Regions from separate parts of the Homo sapiens genome. Here region 1 is linked to region 2. The links are contacts of gene promoters, found by promoter capture Hi-C in blood cells and fetal thymus (Javierre and others, 2016). All regions are on one chromosome and are shown on one strand. Each heading gives the region's core, a stretch centred on a gene start or on the middle of the fragment in contact. The rest is flanking DNA. Distances are from core to core; before and after follow the strand shown.

What was found. The method cuts DNA at HindIII sites, captures the fragments that hold promoters and counts their contacts. A CHiCAGO score of 5 or more calls a contact.
Region 1: a fragment that was not itself captured here is called in contact with the fragment with the promoter of HHIPL1 in region 2 in 1 of 17 cell types (naive CD8 T cells); the score reaches 7.2 in naive CD8 T cells.

What each region holds. Positions count from the first base shown.
Region 1 is chr14:96,438,746-96,442,909 of GRCh38, reverse strand. It overlaps AK7 (adenylate kinase 7), which reads right to left. Exons shown (of 18, transcript NM_152327.5): 7 at 92-180. Among named protein-coding and RNA genes, the nearest start is that of AK7, 49 kb to the right of the region's middle. The HindIII fragment of the contact is 4,300 bases long and covers 1-3,995 here.
Region 2 is chr14:99,643,327-99,647,635 of GRCh38, reverse strand. HHIPL1 (HHIP like 1) reads right to left here and starts at 2,507. Exons shown (of 9, transcript NM_001127258.3): 1 at 2,174-2,507. The coding sequence starts at 2,428. The HindIII fragment of the contact is 13,444 bases long and covers 1-4,309 here.

The DNA of each region.
Region 1 (4,164 bases), core at 596-3,095, 3.2 Mb after region 2:
TTAGCACTAGGCAAATGCTCAAAAAGTATTAGGCTACAAACAAACACATTAACCAATTCTGTGAAGGTCACGTCTCTGGGCGAATGCTTACCCTGCTAGATCAAGAACATGGATTGTTGGAATTACATTTGTTCCATCGCCAAAAACTGGTAATGCAGGAATCTCGCCCAACCAAGCCATCTGAAAGGAAGAAAAGCAAAATCATGTCCCCCAGTTATATGTGGATGGCTATTACAGCTCACACATAAGTCTACAGTCAGAGGCAACTGAAAGGCCTAGCTATCTGCTTAAGTAATTTCCTCTAGGGGGTGTTTTATAAATCAGCCCTGATGAGATTTAGGATCAAATTCTGCCAAGAGAAATAGTGTGTAGCCCTGGGACTGAATCAAATTCTGCCAAGAGAAATAATGTGTAGCCCTGGGACTGAATCAAATTCTGCCAAGAGAAATAATGTGTAGCCCTGGGACTGAAATACTTTTCAAGAAATCTACAACCTCTCAGCCGTATTTAGTAGCTATACGCATGGCATTCACATAGAGAAGAAATGTTTTCACATGCATGATGTCTTAATTCTCACAAAAAGACAAATTAAAATTTAAAATTACCCCCACCAGTAGGGATGAGGTGAGGGGAAATAAGTACCATCAGTCCAGGGGTGAAATGCTTAGCGGATAAGTAGCATGCAGGAGGATACACTTGTGAGAGCTTGGACTGGAACCCCGATCCTCAGAGTCCAAATCCTCATCTTTTCTTCTCATTAAGTATTTCAGTAACCAAACAGACATGATGAGTACTGTTTAAGTGTCACATATTAGATTATTTTGAATTGTTGTTAAGAGTGAAAGAGGTAGGGGTAGGGGTCACAGTAGACCACTGGGTCTTGTAAGATATTTTGGACTTTCAGAAAGTATTGAAGGGTTCTAAGCAGTGATGTGACACCAGCAGGCTTGCTTTTGTTGCCTTGTGGAGAAGTGGCGGGAAGGAGAGTCCAGTGGGGACAGAGGGGTGATGGCAGGTGTGCAGGCGAAATAGGGTAGCTTAGCCTGGAGGTGGGAAGTGCAGGGAGTGGGGATGGAGAGAAGGGAGACATTGAGGAGGCTGACTGTAGTAACTGGGAATTTTATGATGGGTAATGTGAAAGGAAAATAAACCTTGGGACCCCAAAATCACTAAGCCAAAGGGAAAAGTCAAGCTAGGAACTACATAAAGCAAACCTGTCTCTCATTCAAAGATTTTATTTTGTTTTCTTTTTTTTTTTTTTTTTTTTGAGACGGAGTCTTGCTGTGTCACCCAGGCTGGATGGAGTGCAGTGGCAGGATCTCAGCTCACTGCAACCTCTGCCTCCCAGGTTTAAGTGATTCTCCTGCCTCAGCTTCCCGAATAGTTGGGATCACAAGCATGTGCCACCACACCTGGCTAATTTTTGTATTTTTAATAGAGATGGGATTTCACCATGTTGGCCAGGCTGGTCTCGAACTCCTGACCTCAGGTGATCTACCCGCCTCAGCCTCCCAATATGCTGGGATTACTGGCGTGAACCACCATGCCTGGCCTCATACCTTCCTCACAATTTGCCCACTATGAAATTATCTGTAGGCCCCAAGAGCTTTACCCGAAAACAGTTCTGTTGAATTTCACCCTGACAATGTAAATTGACAGCTTATCTTCACAGGTACAGGACAAGGACAGAACTCAAAGTCATCCCTAGGCTCACCTGACACAAATGCCTATCTGATTGCTTCCTCGGCCCTATGTCTATTTTATCTTACATAAAAATGCAGATTCGCTGAGCTAGATAAATGCATAAGTGACTATTCCTCTACCCTTCCCTCATGTCGAACAGCTGATCAAAGACTCAAAAGAATGTGCCCGCTTGCCTCTTATCTACCCACACCTTTTATTTATTTTTTGCAGATGCAGGGTTTCACCATGTTGCCCAGGCTGGTCTCAAACTCCTGGGTTCAAGCCATCCACTCACACTGGCCTCCGAAAGTGCTTTACTGGGATTATAGGCATCAGCCACCATGCCTGGCTTACCCACATCTTTAAAAAATTTCTTCCTCTTTCTCTAATATCTACCCTTTTCCCTTTAAATATTGAAGCACTCAAAGTCATCTTTGGAGAAAGGCACAGGCCTATCTCCTGGGCGTGCATCCTTAACCTTGGCACAATAAACTTCTAAATTGATTGAGACCTGTCTCAGAAACTTTTTGGTTTGCAGTAAGGAGGGAGGAGTTGGATTCTGATCATGTAGCTGGTTGGAGGGTTACCCCATTTTCTGAGATGGGGCCTTGGAGGAGGAGCAGGTTTGGGGATGACTGTAGGTATAGTTTGGATTTGGGAAAGACATCCAAGTTGAGGTGCTGAGTAGGCAGCTGGACCTACAGAGCTAGAACTTAGGAGAGAGAGCCTCGCTGGAGACTGAAGTTTGAGTCATTGGTATCAGTCATAGGAATAAACAGACCAAGGGAGAGAGAGCAGAGGGTGAAGAAAAAAGGTCTAGGGCCGAGGCCTGCGAATGCCAAGATTCAGTGAGCAGGTAGGTGAGAAGTAGCTGAGAATGGACAATGAGTAAGAGCTTCCTTGAGCTTCTCCTCTGCAACTGTCATATCTCTTGTATTAAAAAAATCAGTTCGAGGCCGGGCACGGTGGCTCACGCCTGTAATCCCAGCACTTTGGAGGCTGAGGCGGGCGGATCACGAAGTCAGGAGTTCAAGACCAGCCTGGCCAATATGGTGAAACCCTGTCTCTACTAAAAATACAAAAATTAGCTGGGCATGGTGGCACACACCTGTAATCCCAGCTACTCGGGAGGCTGAGGCAGGAGAACTGCTTGAACCCAGGAGGTGGAGATTGCAGTGAGTTGAGATTGCACCACTGCACTCCAGCCTGGGTGAAAGAGTAAGACTCCTTCTTTAAATAAATAAATACATAATAAATAAATCAAATAAAAATTAAAAATCAGTTCAACCAACCTCTCTTGACTACACTTTATCCTTTAACTCCGCCTTCTTTCTTTGCACCCCCCTCCTTTTACAGGAAAATTCCTTGAAATATTTCTCTGTTCTCATTGTCTTCAATTCCCCTCCAGCTGTTCCTCTTGAACCTGCGGCTGTTAGACTTTTGTCCTACCTAGTGCCAAAAAATTTAGCGGTCAATTTGTAGGTTTCATCTTAGTTGATTATCTGCAGTATCTGACACAATTTGTCATTCTTTCTTTTTAAAAACTTTTTTTTTTTTTTTTTTGAGATGGAGTCTCGCTCTGTCACCCAGGCTGGAGTGCAGTGGTGCAATTTCGGCTCACTGCAAGCTCCGCCTCCTCGGTTCACACCATTCTCCTACTTCAGCCTAACGAGTAGCTGGGACCACAGGCTCCCGCCACCATGCCCGGCTAATTTTTTGTATTTTTAGTAGAGACGGGGTTTCTCCGTGTTAGCCAGGATAGTCTTGATCTCCTGACCTTGTGATCCGCCTGCCTTGGCCTCCCAAAGTGCCGGGATTACAGGCGTGAGTCGGCCAAAAATATTTTTTTTAATAATTATTTACTTTTCTCTTATTTCCTCTCCTGCTTCCTGCCCACCCTTCTCAACCTCCTTTCCTAATTCCTTCCCATTTCCCTATAACCTCCAATATTGGAGGGTTCCAAGACTCAGTCCTCAGGCCCCTATCTCTTCTCCATATTCATTCAGTAGTTGATGTCATCCAGTCCCAAGGATTTAAGTACCCACTGTATACTGACAGCTCCCATGATTATATCTCCAGACCTGACCTCCCCCATGATCACCAAACTCTTTTTGTCCAATAGCCTTCCCAGTATCTATACTTGGATATTAATTATCTCAAACTTCCTGAACTTTTCATTGCATTGTACCCCAACCAGCTCCATTCCCTGTCTTCCCCATTTCAATAAGTGGCAGTGCCATACTTCTAGTTGCTTAGACCAAAATCCTTAAAGTTATCCTTTACTATGTTTCTGTCATCCTTACATCCAAGCTTTGAACAAATCCCATTGACTCTCTCTTCAAAATACGTCTGAAATCTGAACAGTTTCCAGTATCCCCACCATGCCCACCCAGGTCTTAGGCACTACCCTGCTCACTGGTTTCCTTGCTTCCTGCTCCTGCCCATGCCCCAAATAGTACATCCTCAGCACAGCAGAAGGAG
Region 2 (4,309 bases), core at 1,258-3,757:
CAGCCTCAGCCGCCGTCTCTAAGCTCACTCCAGACATGAGGTCACTCTCAGAGACGCCTGGGCTGAAGTGTTAGTGGTCACTCCTGCTAACTGCTGGTTGCTTAAAGCCAGGCTGTCCTGGGAAGTTTCCCAAGAAACCTGCCAGGGGACAGCATCAGGACTGACCCTTCCCTTCCTCCATCCACCTGCCCACCTCACTGCCGTGCTGAGCCTGGCACATAGCAAGTGCTCAATAGACAAATGTGGCATGGATGCAGGAACTCTGCTATGTGATGGGGGTAGGGAGACCAAAGGACCTGGTCCTGAGGAGCCCCCAGGCTGGTGAGGGAGGCAGACGCTTGGCCAGACCATTCCCGTGCCCTTGAGGTGTACAGCATGGGAGTCCAGCAGAGCCCACCTAAAGGTGGCCAGCCCACCCTCTGTTGCATTCTGGAGCTCCCCAGGGCCCCCTCCTCATCCTCCCAGAGTCTACTGCTTCCCACCTAAGATATGAGCTCGCTTCAGCGAGTGTGGTCCATGTCCCCACCTCAACCACCGCTGGGCTGTGCGACCACTGGGCAAGTCCCTGCCTGCCTCTGAGTCTTCCTTGATTCGGGCTCCAAGCCTCACCTGGACCCTTCCCAGGGCTGGGCAGCCAGTGAGGGCCAAGGAAGCCCTCGAGAAATCCAACTGCAAACACTTACCGAGCCCCTAGTATGTGGCATTTAATCTGCATGGCCACCCAGGGGGGTGGTTAAGGTTTTATTTTATTTATTTTATGTATCATATTATATCATATTATATTATATTATATTATATTATATCATATCATATCATATCATATCATATCATATCATATCATATTATATTATATTATATTTTTGAGACGGAGTCTTGCTCTGTTGCCCAGGCTGGGGTGCAGTGGCTCAATCTTGGCTCACTGCAACCTCTGCCTCCCAGAGTCAAGTGCTTCTCCTGCCTCAGCCTCCCGAGTAGCTGGGATTACAGGAGCTCCCCAACATGCCCAGTTAATTTTTGTATTTTTGTAGAGATGGAGTTTCGCCATGTTGGCCAGGCTGGTCTCGAACTCCTGACCTCAAGTGATCTGCCCACCTTGGCCTCCCAAAGTGCTGGGATTACAGGCATAAGCCACCATACTCAGCTTCATTTTAAAGATATTGTGAGGTGCAGCAGTGACCTGCCCAGGTCACGAAGCTGGGGAAGTGACAGAGCCAGGATCAAACTCCAACTCCAAGTCAGCCTTCTTGCCCTTCCCCACACCACCTGCCCCTGCTGGCCGAAGGCTGGGACACGGCCCTGGCCCCTGGGGCCTCTCCACCCCAGGCCTCTCACTGCCCAGATGCTGAGGCAGGAATGCCTTGGGGCTGCCCGTCCTGCTCCATTTCTGCATTCAGCCAGGCAACATTTGCCCACTTGGGTGTGGTCAGGCCCTGGGGCCTCAGACTCCCACAAGAGGAAAACAAATAGCGGTGGCACCACCAGGTGTGCACAGAAGCAGGGGCTCCACCCTCAGAGGGAAGATGGGGGGCCCAGGGGCTTCAACAAAGAGCTGTCGCTCAGTCTTGAGAGAGCTTCTGCAGGCCAGGGCGCCATCCCCAGGAGAGGGCACAGCACCCACAGAGGTGGTGGCGGAAGTGGCAAGGGCATCAGGATGGGGGTGAGACGCTCGTGGGGGACAGTGGCCCCAACCCCCTCAACAAACCCGGGCCACACGTTGACCACGCCCACGCCAGGGCCCCCTGCTTTCACTGCCCCGGGGACAACACAAAGGAGCACTGACCGGGACAGATGCCTCTCCACCTTGGTACCCCGACAAGGGTGCAGCTGCTCGGGGTGGGACGCTGAGGGGTCGACTCCAGGGGACTGGGGCAGAAGAGCCCCCAACCTCTGAGGAAATGATGACATCATCTGTCCGTCCGTCCGTCCTTCCTGCTTCAGGAGGGGAAACTGAGGCCCCGAGAAGGCCCAAGTCACAAAACTAATGAATGGCAAAGCCAAGAGTCGTCCTGGGATGCGCGGTCTCCCCGCCCCGTGCCAAATGACTCCCTGTTGGGGCTTAGAGTTCCCGAGTCCGCCGCCCACTCTTGGCCCTCGCCCCCGCGGGGTTCCGATCTCTGCTCCAGGACTCGGCCTCCCGCGCCCCGCCCCGCCCGGTGGCCGCGCGCCCGCTCACCTGGCACAGCAGGTCCCTCGCGTAGCCGGCGCACGCGGCCCACTCGGCGGCGTCCACGCGGCTCGCCAGGGCCCAGAAGCGGCGGGTCAGCTCGGCGTCGCGCCCCTCATCGCAGCAGCCGAAGTCCGAGTACTGCGCGCAGAGGCGCAGCGGCTGCGTCGGCCGGAAGGGCGGCCTGAAGTCCAGGCACTGCGGATGCGCGGCGGCCCCGAGCACCCAAAGCGCCAGCAGCGCCCCGGCCCTGGCCCGGGCCATCGCTACGCCCCGCGGGGGAAGAGGCGGAGGGACGGCAGCCCCGGTCCCCTCCCGGGGCGCTCGCGGCGGCAGGGAAGGGGCGGGCGCTCCCCTTCCCTACACGCAGGGCCTCGAGTTTGGGGACCTCCCCTTCTAGGAGGTCACCTCTGGTCGGGGACACTCGGCGGGACTGAAGGAAGAGGGACGCGGCGCAGAATGCGGCACGACCTCTTTTAACCGCTTTCCAAATTCGATGGGAGTGGCCCGGTCTGTTTAAAGCCCCGGTGTGTTTTCCCGGTTCCGCCTGGGGCCCTGCTTCCTCCCCACAGGGCGCTCTTTAGCCAGGGAGGCGCAGGGCCAGAGGCCTGGACTCCTGGGCTTCGGTTCCACCTCCCACTGGGCTAGGGAAACGGATGCCCGCAGCCCGTCCCCGAAAGCTCCCACGTAACATTTTAAAAATGGGGGTGCGAGGGAAAGAACAGGGGGTGTTGCCCCAGGACTCTCAGGGAGAAGTGAAACCTGGCGTAGGGGTGGGGAGGGAGGACGGAGCAGTCTCCGCAGTCCACCCTTTGCCCTTACTGTGGGCTTCTTCCCAGTCTCTGCTCCTGGGGCAGCGGATTCTCCTGCAGCCCAGGACCCACTGGGGCTCCCCACTTCCACTCTCGCATAGGGAGCACTGATGAATCTACCTCCTGGGATGGGCATCCAGCCCTTTGTTCCGCTGCCCCCGCTGGAGATTCAGACCCAACCCCGCCCCACCCCCCCACACACATACAGACGCACACACGCTGTCTTACCTACCCCAGAATCTCATGGCACCAAAACCACCCACACAGACAAACACACACACACTGTCTCACCTACCCTAGAATCTCACAGCACCAAAACCACCCAGGCATTTTTCTCAAGTGGACCTCAGCGTTTGCTTCTCCCTGGAGTGTCCTTCCCCATCTTCTCTGTCCAGTGAGCTCCTACTCCATCTTCATGGCCCCAACGCACACATCCGTCCTCTGCAGGTCTCTTTGGACTGTCCTGGGGGATCATGTTTCTGTCTTTGGGCCCATGCTCCTGGCAGAGCTGGGGGTGGATGAGATGCGGCAGGGCTGGAGCACTCAGAGGTCTGTGGCTCTGGCCTGAACAGGTGCAGTGTAAGAGTCAGGGTCTCCGCACAGCCAAACATCTCTGAGTATTTGAAACACGGGGAATTTAACGCAGGGACTTGAAGCCAAAGAGGCTAAGAAGCCATACAGGGCTCAGTGAAGTAACCTTGAGATCAGCAACAGTAGGAACAGTCCCCAGGTCCTTGATGCAGGAAGAGCAGATGTTACTGGAGCCAAGGAGCTATGGTCACCTTGTCAAAGCTGGACCCTCACAAGGCCTGTCTGGCCACAGCTGGAGATAGCCACTGTCAGAGATTCTGCACAGACAGAGGAGGAGAAATACCCCGGCTTCTCCCTGCCACTTCCCCTCCAACTCCCACCTGTGGCTTTCATTGGCTGAACCTAGCAGAGGGCTGCTAGGGTGGGAAATGCGGCCTGCAACGGCTTCCTGCACAGACAGCTGGGAATAGGCAGAGCCAGGATGGAATCGGAGGGCACGATGGCGCCTACTTCCCAGCTGGGACTCAGAACTGGGTGATAGTCACACATCAACACAGGGCTCCAGATGAGTGTACAGAGGTGGAAGTGACACAGAGCCTGGGCCACAGCCATGAGGTTTGGGCTCCTACAGCCACAGAAAATGTCAAACACAGCCCAGCCCCAGCCAGAGTAACATAAATCCTCACCCTAATACCTATTTACCTCGGTTTCTGTTATCTAGTACATCCTGATTGGCTTTCCAGAAAAACAACAAGGCATGAAAAAAAGATAAGAAAAGTCACAGTCAGGAGCCGGGCACAGT